4 separate regions of the Homo sapiens genome follow, and all the other regions are linked to region 1. Evidence: promoter capture Hi-C in 16 types of primary human blood cells and fetal thymus (Javierre and others, 2016). All regions are on one chromosome and are shown on one strand. The core of a region is centred on a gene start or on the middle of the fragment in contact, and the rest is flanking DNA. Distances in the headings are between cores, read along the strand shown.

What was found. Contacts are between HindIII fragments. The CHiCAGO score rates a contact against its expected background, and 5 or more counts as called.
Region 2: a fragment that was not itself captured here is called in contact with the fragment with the promoter of KDM3B in region 1 in 1 of 17 cell types (neutrophils); the score reaches 5.3 in neutrophils.
Region 3: a contact is called between a fragment that was not itself captured here and the fragment with the promoter of KDM3B in region 1, in 1 of 17 cell types (neutrophils). The highest score is 5.8, in neutrophils.
Region 4: a fragment that was not itself captured here is called in contact with the fragment with the promoter of KDM3B in region 1 in 6 of 17 cell types (megakaryocytes, neutrophils, total B cells and 3 more); the score reaches 7.8 in megakaryocytes.

The regions. Positions count from the first base shown.
Region 1 is chr5:138,349,938-138,355,060 of GRCh38, reverse strand. It overlaps KDM3B (lysine demethylase 3B), which reads right to left and starts at 2,376. Exons shown (of 24, transcript NM_016604.4): 1 at 2,074-2,376. The coding sequence starts at 2,265. RefSeq lists an enhancer at 1,437-1,536 and silencers at 1,787-2,256, 2,337-2,576, 2,597-2,676. The HindIII fragment of the contact is 3,421 bases long and covers 902-4,322 here.
Region 2 is chr5:138,564,707-138,569,829 of GRCh38, reverse strand. It overlaps HSPA9 (heat shock protein family A (Hsp70) member 9), which reads left to right. Exons shown (of 17, transcript NM_004134.7): 5 at 781-905; 6 at 2,108-2,181; 7 at 2,269-2,375; 8 at 2,667-2,829; 9 at 3,112-3,204. Among named protein-coding and RNA genes, the nearest start is that of SNORD63, 6.2 kb to the right of the region's middle. The HindIII fragment of the contact is 2,975 bases long and covers 1,172-4,146 here.
Region 3 is chr5:138,164,285-138,169,407 of GRCh38, reverse strand. It overlaps BRD8 (bromodomain containing 8), which reads left to right. Exons shown (of 27, transcript NM_139199.2): 8 at 50-186; 9 at 1,330-1,474; 10 at 2,681-2,890; 11 at 3,300-3,580; 12 at 4,242-4,694; 13 at 4,995-5,088. Among named protein-coding and RNA genes, the nearest start is that of BRD8, 12 kb to the left of the region's middle. The HindIII fragment of the contact is 1,974 bases long and covers 1,295-3,268 here.
Region 4 is chr5:138,186,361-138,191,483 of GRCh38, reverse strand. It overlaps CDC23 (cell division cycle 23), which reads left to right. Exons shown (of 16, transcript NM_004661.4): 13 at 1-10; 14 at 1,578-1,656; 15 at 1,732-1,851; 16 at 2,336-3,834. The coding sequence ends at 2,506. KIF20A (kinesin family member 20A) reads right to left here. Exons shown (of 19, transcript NM_005733.3): 18 at 5,053-5,123; 19 at 3,761-4,388. The coding sequence ends at 4,071. Among named protein-coding and RNA genes, the nearest start is that of KIF20A, 9.8 kb to the right of the region's middle. The HindIII fragment of the contact is 1,277 bases long and covers 1,816-3,092 here.

The sequences.
Region 1 (5,123 bases), core at 1,127-3,626:
GAAAGGTCCACATGCCTACGGTCCAAAGGAAATCTCTCTTAATGAGAAAAAAAGAAAACGGCCCATTCTCATCCTACACTGGTCATTGTCATTAATAGAACCTCAACAAAATACCAATTCTTGAACAATTTTGCAAGCTGGTGAAAAAATCTAAAGGCTCTGAGTTTTGGTCTGGCTGTTTTCTCATCTATGTCCCTGGATATACATGTAAGACAAGCATAAATGTATTCTCAAAATACAAACCTGCCTTTGCTTCTACATTCACACAGCCCTATGCAAGACCTCAACACAGCTGTAATGTTCTTTGCTTTAATTTCCAAGAATCACTGCAACTTTTTACTTGGTTTGAGAACCCAGTTCCGTGGGATCAGTGGTAAAATTATTCAGTATTTAGCTTAGTGGGTGTCCAGCAAGGAAGTGAGCTCCAAAATCCTCTGCCCTTAGGGAGCACAGCAAACGACAAAGTGAATGGGGAGCCATTTCAGGTGCAGAGCTCATTAGCAATTCATCTGATGGAGGAAACGAGACGACCACTGCAAGAACCAGAAAAAAATCCCAATGAATAGCTAGGGCAAAGTAGGCCTTCGGTCAAAGTATGCATATAATAGTGGATCTTAAGTATGTTTTGCCTCCAAGGTGGTAGAATGAATCTGAAATGGACACTTCTTTTCCCATCCCAGCCATCTTTTAAAGAAAGCGCAGAGGAATAGAGATCCAAATCCCAGTCTTAATCATCATTCCATCCCCTTAAATTTTTAGTATCTTTTTGCAAATTTGCCCCACTGAGGCCTTATAAATGTCCTAGTAACGTTTCTTATACAGCATGAAGAAAAATCAAAGCAAATGAACCCAAGTAGCAGAAGCAAAGCCTAAGCCATCCACAAAAAAAATCCATAAAGCTTGTATATTAGTGAAAAAGGACAGTCTAACACCGTTGATCAATAGGAAGAAAAATGAACATCGGAAGCCTACAACATTACTTCCAAATCTCACAAACTGCGTTCCCGTTTATATCTGCAAAAGCAAGTTCATCAAGAAAATTTACTTTCTGCTTGCTGATCTATTACATTCCAAAAGACCACCCCCTGCCCCAACACGCACACACACCATTTTTCATAGCCTTATCTCACCAGAGAAGCTAGGGCCCCTATCAAAATGAGGAAATAAAGTGGCTTGCCAAAACTCAAACACTATATTTTACCGCCACATTAACGAGAATAACACATCATGATCCCGAATGCTAGTTAAGTTGTATGACTGAACAACTTTAATCACAAAACACACCAAGGCATTCAAAAAGGGCCAAGCCCAAACACAAAGTTTCAAAACAAAACCTCTCCCAAGGTTGGGGGAGTAGCTGAGCTGGGAGCAAAAAGCACTACCCAGCAGCCCCGTTCGGCCACTAAGAAAGATCTCAAACTTAACAAAAACAGCCACAACTGCAGCTCCTGTCACCCAGAAGCGTTAAGGAAAGGAGAGGAGAGCTCGAGACAGTGCCGAGAGCTGGCCTTTCTGGAGACCGCCAGGCCGAGCCCAGCTCAGATGAGGAAGTAACTGCCAGATAAAAAAGCCCCGACCAGCTCCAACTGCAGCCTCCGTGCCTCCCATAACTGCCCACATTCCCGCCCCACTTGGGGCTCTGGGAGAAAAGGAACAGGGCGCAGGTCTCCTGGGAGAGGCTGGGGACCACAGGTCCGCGTCTTCGAGAGGGCAGCGGCAACACTGGCCGAACTCTGAGGCTCCCGGGAGCTCAAGATTCGAGAGCCTGCTCCGAAGGCGTGTTGGGGGGAACGCCGAGAAAAGGGTCGCCCAGGAGGCGGGGCCTGCTGGCTGCAAGCAGCAGCTCCGGACGCCCTGGCCGCCCCCCGGGGGAAACCGGGGCGCACACCCCGACGCGGAAGCCATGCCGGCAAGCGCTCGGGGTGCGGAGGTGCCGGCGGGGGGCGCTAAGGAGACCCGGGGGCACGGAAATGGGTCACCCCCATCCCACCGCCCCCTCACAAAGGCCCCCGGGGAGGCCGCCCGCAGGCCCCGCAGCCCCGGCCTCGAGTGCCCGACTCGGCCGCCACTCACCGCTAGGTCCTGGGGCACCGCCCCGCTCATGGCCCGCACCGTGCCGGCCCGCCAGGCTCGAGTGCGCAGCGCAGGCCCCGGATCTCCGCTCGCCGCTGCCGCCGCGGGAGCCGAGGCCGAGGCTGAGGCCGCAGTGTCCGCGAACAGCAGCAGCAGCCGCTTGCCCACCGGGGAGGCCGCCGCGTCCGCCATCGCCGGGGCCGGCCTGACCCGCGCTCCCGCCCGCCGCCTCCCACCACCTCCGCCGCCAAGCGCCCGATCCGCCCGCAAGGCCTCCCTCCGCACCACCCGCGGCCGCCGTTCCCCCCCACCCCCCCCAACAGCCACCACCAACCACCGGCGCAGCGCAGCGCCCCCCGTGGCCGGGAGCGGAGCCGCAGCCTGGGCCCCGCACAGCGCCCCCCGCGCTCTGGAGCGGGGCGACAGCTCCTGGCCCCTCGCAGCGCTCCGCCCCAATCTCCCCGGGGCCTGCAGTGCCCCCTGCGGTCTGGAGGGGAATTGCAGGTCCGGCCGGGGTAGGGAAGTGGGCGGGTCCTTCAGCTTCCCCATGGCATCATCCCTGGTCTCAATCTTCCTTCAGGGAGTCGTATATATGAGAGGGCTTTAGCTTGCTCTCCTCGGATACCAAAGACATTTACGGGGTAAGGGGGTGAGGGGCAAGGTACCTAGAGAGTGGATGTTTTGAGCTATTTAGTGTCTCCAATACCCCCATTGATTTCCTATCCTGAAAATATGAGCTCCTACCTGCTGTCTTGTAGGAAATGTTCTCCCCATTGGTCCATGAGACACAATGTCTTCCTTCTCAATGGCCCATAACAGCACCATCCCATTCTATACTGCCAGCACTTCTTAGGTTCCTTTCCAATTGGCCAATGTATTACTTCCATTGGATGTATAATGCCACTCTTTCCACTGACTGAAGGCCAACGTGCCCCCCAACATCTTGGTGTTTTTCCTAAAACCGACCTAACTTCTTCCCCTTCCTAGTCTGCCAATGTTATTAAGTCTACGTGTTTCTCCATTCAACTCTTAGGGGAACTGGAAATAGACCAACAGTAAAGGGGTTCTCTTAGTAGCACTCCATCTTACCATGGAATTAGTGGGGCTGGGGGCAAAGAAAATTCTGTAACTCTTATCTGAATGCATTTAATACAGGTGTGGGAGACTGATAGCTCCTGATTAGAAAAGGAGCCTGCAGAGAAAGTGAGATGCTGAGATTTTTGGCTAGATTGTTACCCACAATAAGCAACAGGAAATTGCCTCAATCATTTAAAGCTGGCAATATCAGGGACTAGCACATTCCATGGTCTCATGGATGCAGAGACTGAGTATACACAAAATGGATACAAAAGATAAAGGGTATAGTAATAACCCATGACTGTTGTTCTAAAAGTGACTTTTTGATTTTCCCTACAGACAGGAAATAGTGGTAGCTGGTTCTTTCTCCAAGGCTTCTGTGCCTACCCCAGCTATCTCCTGTCCATAACCTTGTCTACACCCTTGACCTACTTTTCTTGTAACAAAGGCTTGGGGAGAGGGGTAACCAACTATTGACTTTATACTTTTACTAAAGTATAAAACATATAGGAAAATCATTCTAGAACCAACCCTGTGGAGCACCAAGGAAACATTCCTCCCTCCACTTCTTTTTAACTTCCATCTCCCACAGCCAACCTGAGGCCTGACTCAGAATGTTTTTCTGGGCTGAGAGCCACCTCTTAAAGCACATGGCCCATAAGCTGTAGTTGGTAGGAGGGGAACAAGGGTGAATCCATACAAGATCTATCTGCCTTGCAATTTTTCTATCAAAATTATCTGCTGGGATTTTCTCCCATACAGAGATTTAACTACTGCCCCAATGTCCAAGGCTAGTTTCTCACAGCAGAGAGACAGAAATGTACCTAAGTTCACGGATGGGAAAGGCAAAAGGGAAATGCATTCAACAAATGTGACCAGCACTTTTCATGTGCCAGGAACTTCCCAAAGTGTTGGGGACACAATATTGAATAAAACAAAACTCTTGCCCTCATGGAGTTTACGTTCTTTCCTATATTAACAAGACTTCAGGAATGAAAAATAAAATCACACTTGGCCTCACAGAAAATAGCAGAAAAATCCAACAAAAATAAACTCAAAAGAAAAAAAGGGGGAAACAAAGTCATTTTAGATGTTCAAACTTTACCCCTGCTCAAGCAGTAGGTGAAATGAAACATCAGTTTTAAAGAAAAAAAACCCTGTAATTCTAAGCTTCTTTAACCACATGCCACTGCCCACCACTTCCCCAAAGCCCTTCCTTTGTTTCCAGGGCAGGTGACAACCCTCACTTTTTCTAGGGTGTATGTGCACCCCTGCAAAGATTCCTGCTCCAGGTAGTCAAGTCAGTCCTGTCCTGCACACACTTCATTGGTATTCAATGATGAGTGCCACCAATTTGAAGCAGGAAACCAGGACATAAGCTAAGCAACTTGACTCTTCTTGCTGCCTGGCAAATTAGCACCACAACTGGTAAAGAAAGGCTAAGCCTTAGAGACAGAGGCTCCTGCCTGGATCTCTAAGCAACTACACTTCACCCACACACATTGGAAGAATGTCAACATAGAGAGAAGAAAGGGTGGAACAGAAAGGTCTAAAGAGTGAGCCACATAGCTTCTTTTGGCAAACCAACACTCCCAAAGGAAACATTAGGGAAAATACTGTCTTCTACAACAAAAGAGAAGCTTTGCAGCTAGGATTATTTTCCAAAAGCAGTATTTTTAGGATGGAAAAATTGCCTAGGTCTATGGAATCTGAATTCTGATGACTAAACCTCTATCTCTCCAGGATGTAACATGTGAAAACTTAAGAAAGATCCCTGGCTGTCTCCCACCCTGCCTTCTCCCTACTTCCCAAAGCCTACAAACCAATCTAGACAAGTTCCTGACTGTACCATAAACCATTTCTCAGGGAGCTGGAATGCATTCATACTTGACTTCAACTTGCTGGAAGTGAGAGTGACAGCAGGCAGGAGGAGACAAGTATAACTGCCAGGGAAAGAGAGACCAAACCAGACT
Region 2 (5,123 bases), core at 1,410-3,909, 210 kb before region 1:
TGTAATCCTAGCACTTTAGGAGGCAGAGGTGGAAAGACTGTCTGAGGCTGAGTTTAAGACCATCTAGGCCAACAAGGCAAGACTGTGTGTGTCTCTGTCTATATATATATAAACTAAATATTTTTAAAAATTTAAACAGCTTTATTGAGCTTGAGTAGAATATGAATTCTGTATGCATGGAGTTGCGTGGACCTCTATGACTGGCTTCTTTCACTTAGCATGTTTTCAAGGTTCATCCATGTTGTAGCATGTGTCAGTACTGCATTCCTTTTTATGGCCAAATAATACTATACTGTATGGACATACAGCACATTTTGTTTATCCATTTGTCAAGTGATGGACATTTGAGCTGTTTCTGCTTTTTGGCTATTAGAAATAATGCTGCCATAAACATTTGTGTACAAGTTTTTGTGTGGACATAAATATTTCCATTTGTCTTAGAGAGTAGAATTGCTGGATCATACAGTAACGGTTTCATCAAATTATTCTAAAGTGGCTGCAAAAATCTTCTGCCTGGGGCGCTAAATAAAGAATGTTGAGGTTTCATCATAATGTTTTTATATGTTAGTGATTGCTTTCTTTTTATTTATTTATTTCATTTTGCCTTGTAATTCTCATAAACCATGTTAGTGATTGCTTTCTAAAGAATTTCACAAACTGTCATTTGTTGGCCATGAATGAGTCTCTTGGGGTGGAAGATGGATGTTCATGGTATGTGGTAATTTTGTCATGGTAAGTTGTTCAGGTAGTTTTCTCTAATAGAATTTTTGTGTCTTACAGTAAAAATGTTCCCTTTAAAATTGTCCGTGCCTCCAATGGTGATGCCTGGGTTGAGGCTCATGGGAAATTGTATTCTCCGAGTCAGATTGGAGCATTTGTGTTGATGAAGATGAAAGAGACTGCAGGTGAGTGGGTTTAGTTCACATCTGGGAAAGTTCTAAGAACAATGATTCCTGTGAGATCACTAGCTCCCTGTGCTCCAGCTCCTGTAGATGAATCTGTGGTCCCTTTTGTATAGAAAAACTAGGAATGGCAAAACTGTGTTATACTTCATGCTTTCCCTGCAGATTGAATTAATCTTCAAATCTCACTAATGGTGGCTGGCTTGTTTCTTTTTTTCCAGTAGGGGGTAATGTTCTATATTGAAAGCCACAAGACTACACATTAAGCTTTTGTCCCTGTTAGGTATAAATTAGAACTTCCTATTTGAAGTGGCTGTTGTAAGTCTAAAGGTCATTGTAGTTTAGTGAACCTTCACTAAAATGTTGAAAGAGTGATCTTAGGGGTTTCTGTTTTTTGGGGTTTTTTTGTTGTTGTTTTTTGAGACAGAGTTTCACTCTTGTTGCCCAGGCTGGAGTGCAGTGGCACAATCTCGGCTCACCAAAGCCTCCGCCTCCCGGGTTCAAGCGATTATCCTGCCCTCTCCCTCCCCCCCAACGTAGCTGGGATTACAGGCATGCGCCATCATGCCTAGCCACTTTTGTGTTTTTAGTAAAGAGATGGGGGTTTCTTCATGTTGGTCAGGCTGGTCTCCAACTCCCGACAAATCAGGTGATTCATCCGCCTCAGCCTCTCAGAGTGCTGGGATTACAGGCATGAGCCACCGTGCCTGGCCGGCCGATCTTGGGTTTGTTTGTTTGTTTTGAGACAAGAGTCTCGCTCTGTCGCCCAAGCTAGAGTGCAGTGGTGCGATCTTGTCTCACTGCAACCTCCGCCTCCCAGGTTCAAACAATTCTCCCGCCTCAGCCTCCTGAGTAGCTGAAATGACAGGCATGCGCCACCATGCCTGAATAATTTTGTATTTTTAGTAGAGATGGGGTTTCTCCATATTGGTTAGGCTGGTCTCAAAACTCTCAACCTTAGGTGATCTGCCCGCCTCAGCCTCCCAAAGTGCTGGGATTACGAGTGTGAGCCACCGTGCCCGGCCTGATCTTGGGTTTTTAACCAGTGTATTTACTTGGAGTGTTTCCTGCAAGGACATATTAGGTCACTTACCAAAAGACTGAAGAATGTTGTCTGTGGCTGCAAAAGGATGACACAGGTTGTTGGGCTATATTAATAATTCTGTTCTGACAGAATTCCATGATTGAATTTCATTCTTTTCCAGAAAATTACTTGGGGCACACAGCAAAAAATGCTGTGATCACAGTCCCAGCTTATTTCAATGACTCGCAGAGACAGGTGAGGTCAATTAGCATTCTTATTCACAAAAAGTAAGGTGCCTGGGATGGAAGGGTACAAAAATGTTTTTCTCTTTGTTTTCTCTAGGCCACTAAAGATGCTGGCCAGATATCTGGACTGAATGTGCTTCGGGTGATTAATGAGCCCACAGCTGCTGCTCTTGCCTATGGTCTAGACAAATCAGAAGACAAAGTGTAAGTTTGTGCAGTAAATTTCTCACCTGGATGTGTGAAACTAAAGTGTCACTTAATTTTTTAGTAATTGAGCCTTTTACAGTGCTTTTACTGATTTTAAGTCTGTATTGTCTTTGTTTTTTCATTTCAAAACCATTCTTTTCTTTTCTTTTGGGCCATGGTAATTTAACTAGTACATATCTCAGGGAAATAGCTTAGATTATCTGTATTTGGTTATTGAAATTTATATCCTGGTGATAGGTTTTGTTCTTAAGGATTTCTTTTCTTTTTTTTTTCACAAATCATTTACAGCATTGCTGTATATGATTTAGGTGGTGGAACTTTTGATATTTCTATCCTGGAAATTCAGAAAGGAGTATTTGAGGTGAAATCCACAAATGGGGATACCTTCTTAGGTGGGGAAGACTTTGACCAGGCCTTGCTACGGCACATTGTGAAGGAGTTCAAGAGAGAGGTGAGTTACCAATGTGGTTAATATGTAGACGTTGGGATATTGAGAAATTCTTTGTTCAGATTGCTCTTTGCTTTGTTTACGAGTTCAGTTCAACCCCCTTATTCTAGACACAGATACTCTTTTCAGAATATTTTTTTTCCCTACACATTAAGGGTAATAAAAAGTAATTCATGCTTATATATAAAGGTATGACTCCATTTTGTGTTGTTCCACCTTATTACTGCAGTTTATTTATCACCTCACTAATGCTGGTGTTTGGTGTTCAATGTCTTCACTTTATAGACAGGGGTTGATTTGACTAAAGACAACATGGCACTTCAGAGGGTACGGGAAGCTGCTGAAAAGGCTAAATGTGAACTCTCCTCATCTGTGCAGGTGAGACACGGAAAATTCGAGCAGTCTTGATGGATATTTTCAGCCGGAGCTTATTTAAAATAAATAGTATTTTCTAATTGGCCTAATGTCAGTTGAGTTTTTTTTGTTTGTTTGTTTTTTCAGTTTTCTGGTTTCTAGAGACCTTTGCCATGAGCACAGGGACAGTAAGGTCTTTAGTTTCTTTATGAGCTGAAATTTTTTTAGCCACTCAAATCAGTTACATATACTGGAGCTAAATAATGTGTGAATGATGTGCTGGGTGTACTTGTTTGCCTTTCAGTTAAAGACATTTATTTTAAAACCTGCTCTGGCAGTGTTTAAAACTAGAATTACTAGCTTGGAAAAACTGCTGTCTTAACTGACAATATTAAATAACCTCTCTCCTTGTGAATTGGAGAGTCTCTGAGTGTCTTTTTTTTTTTTTTTTTTTTTTTTTTGAGACAGAGTTTTGCTCCTGTTGCCCAGGCTACAGTGCAATGGCGTGATCTTGGCTCACCGCAACCTCTGCCTCCTGGGTTCAAGTGATTTCTCCTGCCTCGACCTCCCAAGTAGCTGGGATTACAGGTGTGCACCACCATGCCTGGCTAATTTTTGTATTTATAGTACAGACAGGGTTCTGCCATGTTGGCCAGGTTGGTCCTTGGACTCCTGACCTCAGGTGATTGACCTGCCTCGGCCTCCCAAAGTGCTGGGATAATGGGCGTGAGCCACTGAGCCCGGCTAATTGTCTCTCACTTAATAATTTGAAAAATTAGCTGGTCATAGTCTATACAACTGTGGTCCCAGCCACTCCAGAGGCTAAGAGGATTGTTTGAGCCCAGGAGGTTGAGGCTGCAGTGAGCCGTGATCACACCATTTCACTCCAGCCTGGGTGACAAATGAGACCCTGTGTCAAAAAATGACAATAATTTGAATCACCAGTCTAGAAAAAGAGCTGAAGCTTGTGCAAGTTTCCGTCTGTGAGCATCAGATTTACACAGCCTCTTTGTCAGTTTGGTTAGCTCCAGTTCTGAGAGGTGAAACTTGTCTTCACCACCAAGAATAGAATTATATAAACCATTTTAGATCTGTGTTAGAGACCCATGAAGATAGAAAGCAGCAGATCTATTTCCGGTGTCTTGGGTGACAGCAGGAAAAGCAGAGCGGTGACACCTTTATTTTGATCACCCACAAGGGAAGAGGTATTTATGATGGTTGTCACTGTGGTTGCTGCTAATGAACCTTCCCCTCAAACCTGGATTTTTTTTTTTAAGTGGCTGTGAGGAGTGACATAGTTATACACACGCATCCATGGTCTTGCTGATGTTACTTTGCCCCTGCTATCATGGAGTGGCAGAACATTGCAACGTTGGTTAGGGTTGAGGTTGAAATACCTGGCACTGCCAGAAGATAATTCTTCCCAGGGATTTGACATTTGGGGTAGGGGATGCGAGGTGTTGGAAGAGATTGGTTGGTTTTAATTAGTGTGGCTGCATCCTATTGATAGACATTTTGATTGTTTTCCAGTGTTTATTATAGCAAGATGTATTGAGCATCCTTACACATTCAGTTTTGCATAGGTGATTTTAAATCTATAGAATAAATTCTTAGCGTTTATTACCCTCATGCAGATTATATTGTGGTTTGGAAAGATGGACATTAATTAGAACAGATTAGTAAACGTTAAACTAGAAGTGATACAAAGTAAAGGTTAAGGGTGGTTCTGCAAGCATTCTGCTGGGGTTCAAGTCCCCCTTGTATTGCTTATTAATTGGTGATCTTGGATGAATTAACATTACTGTTACTTATCTACAAAACAAGGATAATAGTGGTACTCTTCCCCTAAGAGTTGTGAGCATTACCAAGTTCATAAATATTACATGCTTAGGAAAACATAGGAAATTGTGAATACTCTAAATGTAAGTTACTATTAATGTAAC
Region 3 (5,123 bases), core at 1,032-3,531, 190 kb after region 1:
CATTTATTTAATCTTGAAGATTTGGACATTGTTCTCTTTTATGTTCTAGCTCGTCAAGCAGTAAAAACACCCCCCCGGAGGTTACCCACTGTGATGGTTCGCTCTCCTATAGATTCTGCCTCCCCAGGAGGTGATTATCCACTTGGGGACTTGACTCCAACCACTATGGAAGAGGCTACCTCTGGGGTGAGTATATTTCCATCTGTGGGAATTGATCAGTGAAGGGGCAATAAGCCGGCAGAGCTGAGCGATGAGGAAACCACTTTTGGCCTAGAGGCAACTTCCTCTCTTGATCTGAATGCTAAAGACTTAATTTACCATGTTCTGTGCTCTGAGATAAGAACGGACCTAAAAGCATTGAGGCTTTTGACCTTTTTGAGAGATAGGTAAAAAACTATTTTAAGAAATTGTTTCATACTAGTCTTATGAAATTCCTGCTGAAATAAGGGACAAAATCCTTGTAAATGTAATATTGGTAGTGGGTAAGGAGTTCATAAAAGGCAGGTTGGGTGGGATGGTTGAGTCACTGTGGGTTTGAGTGGATGAAAGAGAAGATTGTGGGGAAGAAAAGTATGGCTAAGAGCAGGAGGGATAGAGGGTTTCTGGGCAATTCCACTCAGGACTAATAAAATAATAGTTAGACACACTAACCCATACAGATTAGTAGGGAACCTTCCATAGTTTGAGAAGTCAGATAAAGGTTCTCTGTTGTCTCTTAGGTAACCCCCGGGACTTTGCCGAGTACCCCAGTCACCTCGTTTCCTGGGATTCCTGACACCCTTCCTCCAGGCTCTGCACCCTTAGAAGCCCCCATGACCCCAGTAACAGATGATTCACCCCAGAAAAAGATGCTTGGACAGAAAGCAACTCCACCCCCCTCCCCTCTGCTGTCAGAGCTCTTGAAGAAGGGCAGCCTCCTGCCTACTAGCCCCAGACTGGTATGGAGACTTCTGTGGGTGTTTGAGAGCTGTGGTGATTTAGTACTTGGAAGGGAGTGCCTGGGACCTAAAATGTGACATGGGGAATAAAAGTTCAAAAGAGGAAAAGATCTCCTAATTAAATGTTAATTTTTTAAAAATACAGTAAGTTGATAGTACCCATGGGTCCTGAGGTATCTGAATCACAATTATTTTGGTTCTCTTCTCCAGAGAACTCTTGTCAAATAAGTTTTGAACATTATAGTTTAGAGTTTCCCTTGGGTCTTAAATTATTCTCTGTGGATATTAGCTATTAGTTTTCATGAAGTTTGATCAACTGCTGGAGCTTTGTTGGGAAATGGTAGTGAAGGAAAGCTTGAGTGTAGCCTTCACCTCTATTCTTCCCTGGTAGGTCAATGAGAGTGAAATGGCTGTGGCTTCTGGCCACCTGAACAGTACAGGTGTCCTCCTGGAGGTAGGCGGGGTCCTTCCCATGATACATGGTGGGGAGATACAGCAAACACCCAATACTGTTGCAGCCTCCCCTGCTGCATCAGGTAAGTTACCACTTTTCCTTTATCAACCTCAAAGGTGTTGAACTTGACATTGACTGACCTCAGTTTCACTGTTACTAAGCAGTTGTCAGTGCTAGATTTAAAGCCCAACTTTTTCTAACTTTTTTTTGGAGCTACTTTACCTGGTAAACAATGTAGTCTCCATATTATAAAGCCATCTATCTTCAAGATAGTGATAGCCCTGATTGACCACAGCATGGATATTGAGAGTAATATTGAACTGCTTTCTTAGGGCTTGCAAAATCAAGGTGCTAGAGATACCTAAGATTATAGAATAGTGGAATAAGATTTGGAACCAGAGAATTGGGCTTGAATCTCAGGCCTGCCACACATTGGTTTTGTGACCTTGGATAGGTAACTTAGCTTTTGAGCCTCAGTTTCCTTTTTTATTGTAACATATATACTTCACAAGGATGTGATGAGAATTTAATGAGGTAGAAAGTATAAAGCAGGGAAATAAAAAAAGCTCCATAGAATACCATACAAACCTTATTGGTATTTGAATGGTGTTGAACTTGGGTGGTTTACAATATGCTGAACTTCAGCAGAAGCGACAGATTTATTCATACCAGTTTTTCGTTTCTTGGTGATTAATTTTCCTCTGAGGAAAAATTACCACCCTTTGTTGTTGTTGTTGTTGTTTTTTTTGAGACAGAGCCTTGCTCTGTCGCCCAAGCTGGAGTGTGGTGGCACAATCTTGGCTCACTGCAATCTCCACCTCCTGCGTTCAAGCAGTTCTCCTGCCTCAGCCTCCTGAATAGCTGGGATTACAGCACCCACCACCACGCCTAGCTAATTTTTTTTTTTTTTTTTTTTTTTTTTTTGTATTTTTAGTAGAGGCAGGGTTTCGCTATGTTGCCCAGGCTGGTCTCAAACTCTTGACCTCAAGTGACCCACCTGCCTCGGCCTCCCAAAGTGCTAGCATTACAGGCGTGAGCCACTGCACCTAGCCTTACCACCCATTTTTTATATATGTTGTGTGTTCTAGTGCTTTGGTTCATTCCTAACTTGGAGGAAGATCTTAAGTAAGGTTAGAGTAAGGATATAGATGATGAACTTATTCAATGCAGGAGTTGCTCTCATCCTTTGAGACCATAAGAATTTTCTTAGTTGAGTCTTCAAGTAGCTATTGCTTCTTATTTATGTGCTTTCTTCTTACTTCATTTTGTGTACCTCTTTATATGTTAGGTGCTCCCACTCTTTCCCGGCTTTTAGAAGCTGGTCCTACACAGTTCACCACACCTCTTGCTTCCTTCACTACTGTTGCCAGTGAGCCTCCAGTTAAACTTGTGCCACCCCCTGTAGAGTCTGTGTCCCAAGCTACCATTGTCATGATGCCTGCGCTGCCAGCACCATCCTCTGCTCCGGCTGTCTCCACTACTGAAAGTGTAGCTCCAGGTGCGTCCCTGAGCAGCCACTAGATCTAAAATTTCATTTTGAGCTTTAGTTAGAGAAAAATGACCAAGAGCATCAGCTCCGATTCAGATGCTTCTTCTCTGTTCTACATAGACATGTGCCATCTTTATCCTTAGAAATAAATATCCTTAGAAATAGATGTGAGAAGAGGTGGGTGGGCATTTATGTATTGCAGGAAGAGGCTAAGTATACAGATATGAGCAGGCTTGAAAATATGTTCTCACCTTTCTAGATAAAACTGGGGAGAAGAAAACATAGGCACATGTTGATGACTCTTTCTGACCTTAAGTGTTTGGATATTTGACATCTGTCTGTAGCGCTTATGTGATCTCAAGGTGGTCGCTTTGTACCCAATAAGCTTCTGAGATGCTTTTCTCTTTCTGTTACTCAGTGAGTCAACCCGACAACTGTGTTCCCATGGAGGCTGTGGGGGATCCACATACTGTGACTGTTTCCATGGACAGCAGTGAAATATCCATGATCATCAATTCTATCAAAGAAGAGTGTTTTCGATCAGGGGTAGCAGAGGCTCCTGTTGGATCAAAGGCTCCCAGCATAGATGGGAAGGAAGAATTAGATCTGGCTGAGAAGATGGATATTGCTGTGTCTTACACAGGTGAAGAGCTGGATTTTGAGACTGTTGGAGACATCATTGCCATCATTGAGGACAAGGTAACTATTCAGCGAAGCCCCAGAGAATCTCATGGGTCCTACATAGGCTTCTCTTTTCAGCCTCACTTTGGTGCTGCTGCTGCTTTTTTTTTTTTTTTTTTGGAGACAGAGTCTTGCTCTTTCATCCAGGCTGAAGTGCAGTGGCACGATCTTGGCTTACTGTTACCTCTGCCTCCCAGCCTCAAGTAATTCTTGTGCCTCAGCCTCCTGAGTAGCTGGGACTACAGGCACATGCCACCACGCCTCACTAATTTTTTGTATTTTTAGTAGAGATGAGTTTTACCATGTTGGCCAGGCTGGTCTCAAACTCCTGGCCTCAAGTGATCCACCCACCTCGGCCTCCCAAAGTGCTGAGATTACAGGCATGAGCCACCATACTCGGCTGCTTTGCTTCTTACAGTAAGAATTACTTAAACAACTCTCCTACTTCTGCCCATCTCCATCTTTGTAGCCCTTTGGTGCTAACATACTAGTCATCTCCTCAGGTCTACCCATGTTACTGGTTTGCACAGGACAGGTGCCTCTTCATTGTTTGCCTCCACTACATGGAAAAAATGGAGCGAAAAGCTGCAGATTCAAGCCATCACATTTGGTGCTAACAAAAATTGAAGGACTTGGGCTTCTTTCTGTGACCTCAATAGTCTTGTGTTTTGTGGGACAGGTAGATGATCATCCTGAAGTGCTGGATGTGGCAGCAGTGGAAGCAGCACTGTCATTTTGTGAAGAAAATGATGATCCTCAGTCCCTGCCTGGCCCCTGGGAGCATCCTATCCAGCAGGAGCGGGACAAGCCAGTACCTCTCCCTGCACCAGAAATGACGGTCAAGCAAGAGAGACTGGACTTTGAGGAAACGGAAAACAAGGGAATACATGAACTGGTGGACATCAGGGAGCCCAGTGCAGAGATCAAGGTGGAACCTGCAGAACCAGAGCCAGTCATTTCAGGAGCCGAAATAGTAGCTGGAGTTGTTCCAGCCACAAGTATGGAGCCACCAGAACTCAGGAGTCAGGACTTAGATGAGGAACTGGGAAGTACTGCAGCTGGAGAGATTGTTGAAGCAGATGTTGCCATTGGGAAAGGCGATGAGACTCCACTTACAAATGTGAAGACAGAGGTACTTAAGAAAGATCGGGGCTGGGGAGATGGAGGTTTATACCTTAGATAAGAAGTGACAGCTTAGGCTTTTTGGTTTTCCAGTTGCATTCCTGAGTTCTGACATGTTTGATGTGTCCAAAGCCCATAGGCTGTGATTAGTGTTATATATACTTATTCCTGTTAAGGTGACCATTGGAGTCACATTACATGAGTAGGACTTAGAATTTCTTCTATGGTCTCATTATCACTGAAGAATAAAGTTGTGTGAGCTATAGCGATTTATCAGTACTTAGGGTGTTTTTTCTTTTCTGGTTTTCAGGCATCCCCTGAAAGCATGTTGTCTCCATCACATGGCTCAAATCCCATTGAAGATCCTTTAGAGGCAGAGACTCAGCACAAGTTTGAAATGTCAGGTAAATAAAGTCCTCTTTCACTGACTTGAAATCAT
Region 4 (5,123 bases), core at 1,205-3,704, 160 kb after region 1:
AACTGGCAAAGTGAGTGAAAGGAGTGAAATGCTATTGATATTTCTGTTGGCTTCTCTGGGATGGTGGGTCCTGCATGGTCTAGAGCCTCCCATACACCCATCATTCTACATAGGTGTAGGGATGTAGCAGGGTGTGTGAATGCTGGTTTGTGAATGTAGCCATCTTGTTCCTAGAGAATGCCACTTCTGGCCAGGTGCAGTGGCTCATGCCTGTAATTCTAGCACTTTGGGCGGCTGAGGGAGGTGGATGACCTGAGGTCAGGAGTTCAAGACCTGGGAGGTGGAGGTTGCAGTGAGCCGAGATCGCGCCATTGCACTCCAGCCTGGGCAACAAGAGCAAAACTCCATCTCAAAATAAAAAAAATAAAAAGAGAATGCTACTTCTCTTGAAGGAGGGCCGTTGCTTTCCTATTAAAGCAAGAGATCAAGATTGATTTGAAGAAAGGATAACATTTTTGTGTCAAACTACTTTCAGTATTAATTTCCTGCTAAGGGCCAGAAAAATTAGGAATAACTCAAATAGTAGGCAAAGAGGTTCTTAAATGTAAAGAGGTTCCTGTCTGGATTCTTAGGAAAAAAATTGAGTTGCTTGGTATCTTTTTTTTTTTTTTTGTAATTTATAGATAGGATCTTGCTGTGATGACCAGGTTGGTCTTGAAGTCATTGGTCTCAGCCAGATTAGAGAGTAGCTAGGATTATGGCCCTATGCCACCATGCCTGGCCACTTGTTATCTTTTTTTTTTGAGACGGAGTCTTGCTCTGTCACGGAGGCTAGAGTGCAACCTCTGCCTCCTGGGTTCAAATGATTCTCCTGCCTCAGTCTCCCGAGTAGCTGGCATTACAGGCGCTTGCCACCACACCTGGCTAATTTTTGTATTTTTTAGTAGAGACAGAGTTTTGCCATGTTGGCCAGGCTGGTCTTGAACTCCTGATCTCTGATGACCCACCCGCCTTGGCCTCCCAAAGTGCTGGGATTACAGGTGTGAGCCACAGTGCCCAGCTTTTTTTTTTTTTTTTCTTTTTTTGGAGTCAGAGTCTCATTCTGTGGCCCAGGCTGGAGTGTAGTGGTATGATCTTGGCTCACTGCAACCTCCACCTTCCAAGTTAAAGCAATTCTCCTGCTCCAGCTTCCTGAGTAGGTGGGATTACAGGCATGTGTCACAACGCCCGGCTAATTTTTCTACTTTTAGTAGAGATGAGGTTTCACCTTGTTGGCCATGCTGGTCTCAAACTCCTGACCTCAAGTGATCTGCCCTCCTTGGCCTCCCAAAGTGCTGGGATTACAGGCATGAGCCACTTTACTCTGGGTATTACTAGATAATTTTTGCAAGGATGGTTTATCTAGCTTAGATATTAATATTTACTGACTCTCCTTCCATCATTAGCAGAGTAATGATTCTAAGCTTTGATAACAGTAACTATCACATCTAATACTATTCTAGTTCCAAGAGTGTCATTTATGTCAAAATTGATACTTACCTATGTATTGTTTTTTTTGGTCTTATGTACTTTTACTTTTTTTATCACTAAGTTGCTTTGGGATATCATTGGTATTTAAAGATCAGTTTCTTTTGTAGGCTTCATGAACAGTTGACTGAGTCAGAACAGGCTGCCCAGTGTTACATCAAATATATCCAAGATATCTATTCCTGTGGGGTATGTATCATACCATGAGAATTGTACTGCTGATATTATTACTGTCACCTCAGTAATTTTGCTTTCCCTTTCTAGGAAATAGTAGAACACTTGGAGGAAAGCACTGCCTTTCGCTATCTGGCCCAGTACTATTTTAAGTGCAAACTGTGGGATGAAGCTTCAACTTGTGCACAAAAGTGTTGTGCATTTAATGATGTGAGTATCAGTTCTTTAATAAAAGGTTTGAATTTTAGGCTAGAACATAAGATATTTAAGTGGAAAGCCTACCTTGGCCAGGCAAGCGGCTCACACCTATAATCCCAACACTTTGGGAGGCTGAGGCAGGAGGATCGCTTGTGTCCAGGAGTTCAAGACCAGCCTGGACAAAAAAGGGAGAGCTTGTCTCTACAAAAATTAAATTTTGCCAGGTTTGGTGGTGCATGCCTGTGGTCCCAGCTACTCAGGAGGCTGAGGTGAGAGGATCACTTGATCCTCTGCAGTGAGGTCGAGGCTGCAGTGAGCCTTGATCACACCACTGCACTGTAGCCTGGGTGACACAGTGAGACTCCATCTCAAAAAAAAAAAACAAGCAAGCCTCCCGCCTCCTTGATCTGTGGAACTTGTTTAACAGCATCTTAATAACTTGTTTTCGAGACTAGCTTTGGACATGTTTTGAAACATTTCCCTGACTTTGTTGCAGACCCGGGAAGAAGGTAAGGCCTTACTCCGGCAAATCCTACAGCTTCGGAACCAAGGCGAGACTCCTACCACCGAGGTGCCTGCTCCCTTTTTCCTACCTGCTTCACTCTCTGCTAACAATACCCCCACACGCAGAGTTTCTCCACTCAACTTGTCTTCTGTCACGCCATAGTTGGCTACTCTCAAGCCAGCACATTGTTAGACCCATCTTAATTAAGCCTTACCTCCATGTAAAGAACAGCACGTCTGTTCCAAGGACCTCAGCTCTTCTTGTTTCTACAGATGGCAACAGCTCCATAGGGACAGCTTGTATAATTACCTTCAGAGGCCAACTGACAGAATCCTGGCAGGAACAGACATTATCTTGCCAGTTAGAAGTACTTCTGTCTCACTTATGTCCAAAGAGTGGCTATAGATCTTGGCCTTCTTCCCTGAATGCTTTTTTTTTTTGGCCCCCAAGAAAGTCCCTTTTATAGCACTTTAGCACAGGCAATGCTACAGGAACAAAGTTTCAATGCTGCTGAGAGTGAAAGAAAGGAGGAAAGTCTGCCACTCTACCCTGAGCTGGCAGTAGGGCACTGAGTACCCTAGGAAGAAGTCAGAGCAATGGATACAAATGACCTTGCTCTTGGATTTGCTGAGCATGATCCCTATTCTGATGTCAGAGATTAGGTTTAAATGGAATAGAGCTATCCATTTGTTCTTACTCTCTAGGGAGACAATCTTCCAAAACAGTTTTGGGGGGGTCTTCTAAAGCTTTCAAATTGGAAGTAACTTTATTCAACTAGAGTTGAATAAAAGAAGGGCAAAAATAATCTCACAGAGCTTGGAACTGCTGATAGCCCTTACTGAGGGCAAAAGATGGCTATATTGTTAGCTATACTCCTACCAAAGCAAGCAAGGAGATAGGATTATAGATAATTTCACGGACATTTGGAAATAACATTGGTGATTATACAGACAAGAATAAACTCACTTCAAGCTGGTCTGTTTTAATAAATTTTCAACGTAATTGTCTATTTTTTTCCCTCCCATCTGCAACAGAATACATTTTTTTCAGCCTTTATCTAGATGAGGTAAAGGGAATCATTCTTATGGTGCTCTTGGAGAGTTTCAGGCCTGTGCATGTGTGTACAGCAGGAGGTAATATGCTATAATGTCTGCTGTAATATATTTGCACAGTAGATGCTATGGATCATTCTGAGCTCAGGGTCCAGACTTTATTCTTATTCCCAGAATTTTGTGTTACGTTTTTACCTCCTAACATATGACACTTCATCTTATATTAAGGAAGGTTTAGAATATCTAATACGACTTGAATTCATTTGTTACTAAGCCTTCTCAGGCAAGCTGTATACTAGTTACTGGTCTCCACTGCCATGCCTTTTCAAGGTTCCCATGGTCCAGAATGATGTTTGATTCTTAATTTTTCTGTCCCTTTTATAATTTGTTTTAATGATTTTGCTACATTTGGAATTCAATAAAAAATGTGAACAATAATATCTTTAATATAACTGTTTTTGTGTGCATAGAAATCATATAAGTAAATAAAAAAAAACAACAACATGAGATTACATAGGTGGTTATAATACAAAAGTGAGAAAAAAGCTAGTGTCTGAGTATTGCATCCTGGATATAATTCCTGATATATGGTAAAGCATAAAAGAGACCTATTTCTTCAGGAGAGTAGCTGACCCACCTCAGGGCCATGACTGCTCTTCTCTTTCCCCACAGCCTTAGTACTTTTTGCCAAAAGGCCCAGATTTGAGTAAAGGGGAACGCCGTGAGCGTAGGATCCGGGCATAAGGGCTGCAGTCTGTTGAGCTTTGGCAGGTTGGTGTTCGGGGAAGTAAATTTCGAAGGAATGGTTTCTTCCCTGGTGGTTGTTGGTTTGGTTGCTGATTTTCCTGGTTGGTACCAAGGCGCTTTTTGGCAGAAACCTGGCCTTGGAGTTTCAACACAGTATGATACTGCTCAGCAATACATGCTGCCTTCTTCCGAAGGTCCAGTTTCACTAGCACCATGTTGTTCTGCAGTTCAGCCAGAGTCTGGTCCTAAGGAAGATCAATAAAGTTATAGAAAACACTTTTGTCTGGTATATTAGAGAAACGAGAGGGCTAAGGGTAATACATACCATCCATTACTAGTTACTAACAACTGTTTCTTCAAAGATTAAAACTCTTTAAGGTCGGAGCTTATAACTGAATAAGGGGACATTTTCTGAGAACAAAACATAAGCAGTGCTGAATAGGACATCTTCTAACACATAAGGTAGTATGAGCTTGAGTAAATTTAATTTCTAAGTGCCTCAGTCTCTAAATGTCAAATTAAATGTTGAGTTTAGTTTAAGATACACAATTTTAACATTTTAATCTCTTTGGAATCAGGATGCATCTTACTGATGAGAAATTGTTACTTTTTTCTTAGTAGTACATAAAATAATGGTTTCTTATAATCAGTAGCATCTTAGATGAAATATGACAGTAACTACCTCCCTAAGGTGGTTGTGACAGAAAATGCCTATAAATTACTTAGCACAGTGCCTGGTACTTAGTAAATGCTTAACAAAGAATAGTTATTTTTATTTTGCAAATATACTGCTCTCACTATAAATTCAGCCTAAAAATCTTTACCTTTTTCTTCTGGTCCTCTTTCCTTTCTCACATATACACTGGAGTGGGCTGGTAGGACAGAAGTGGGTATATAGTTTGCCCTAACCTGTTTGATTAAGATGTCATCACAAGTGGTCAAGGCTTGACGAAGTTTTCCTGCCCCAGTGCTGTGGCAAC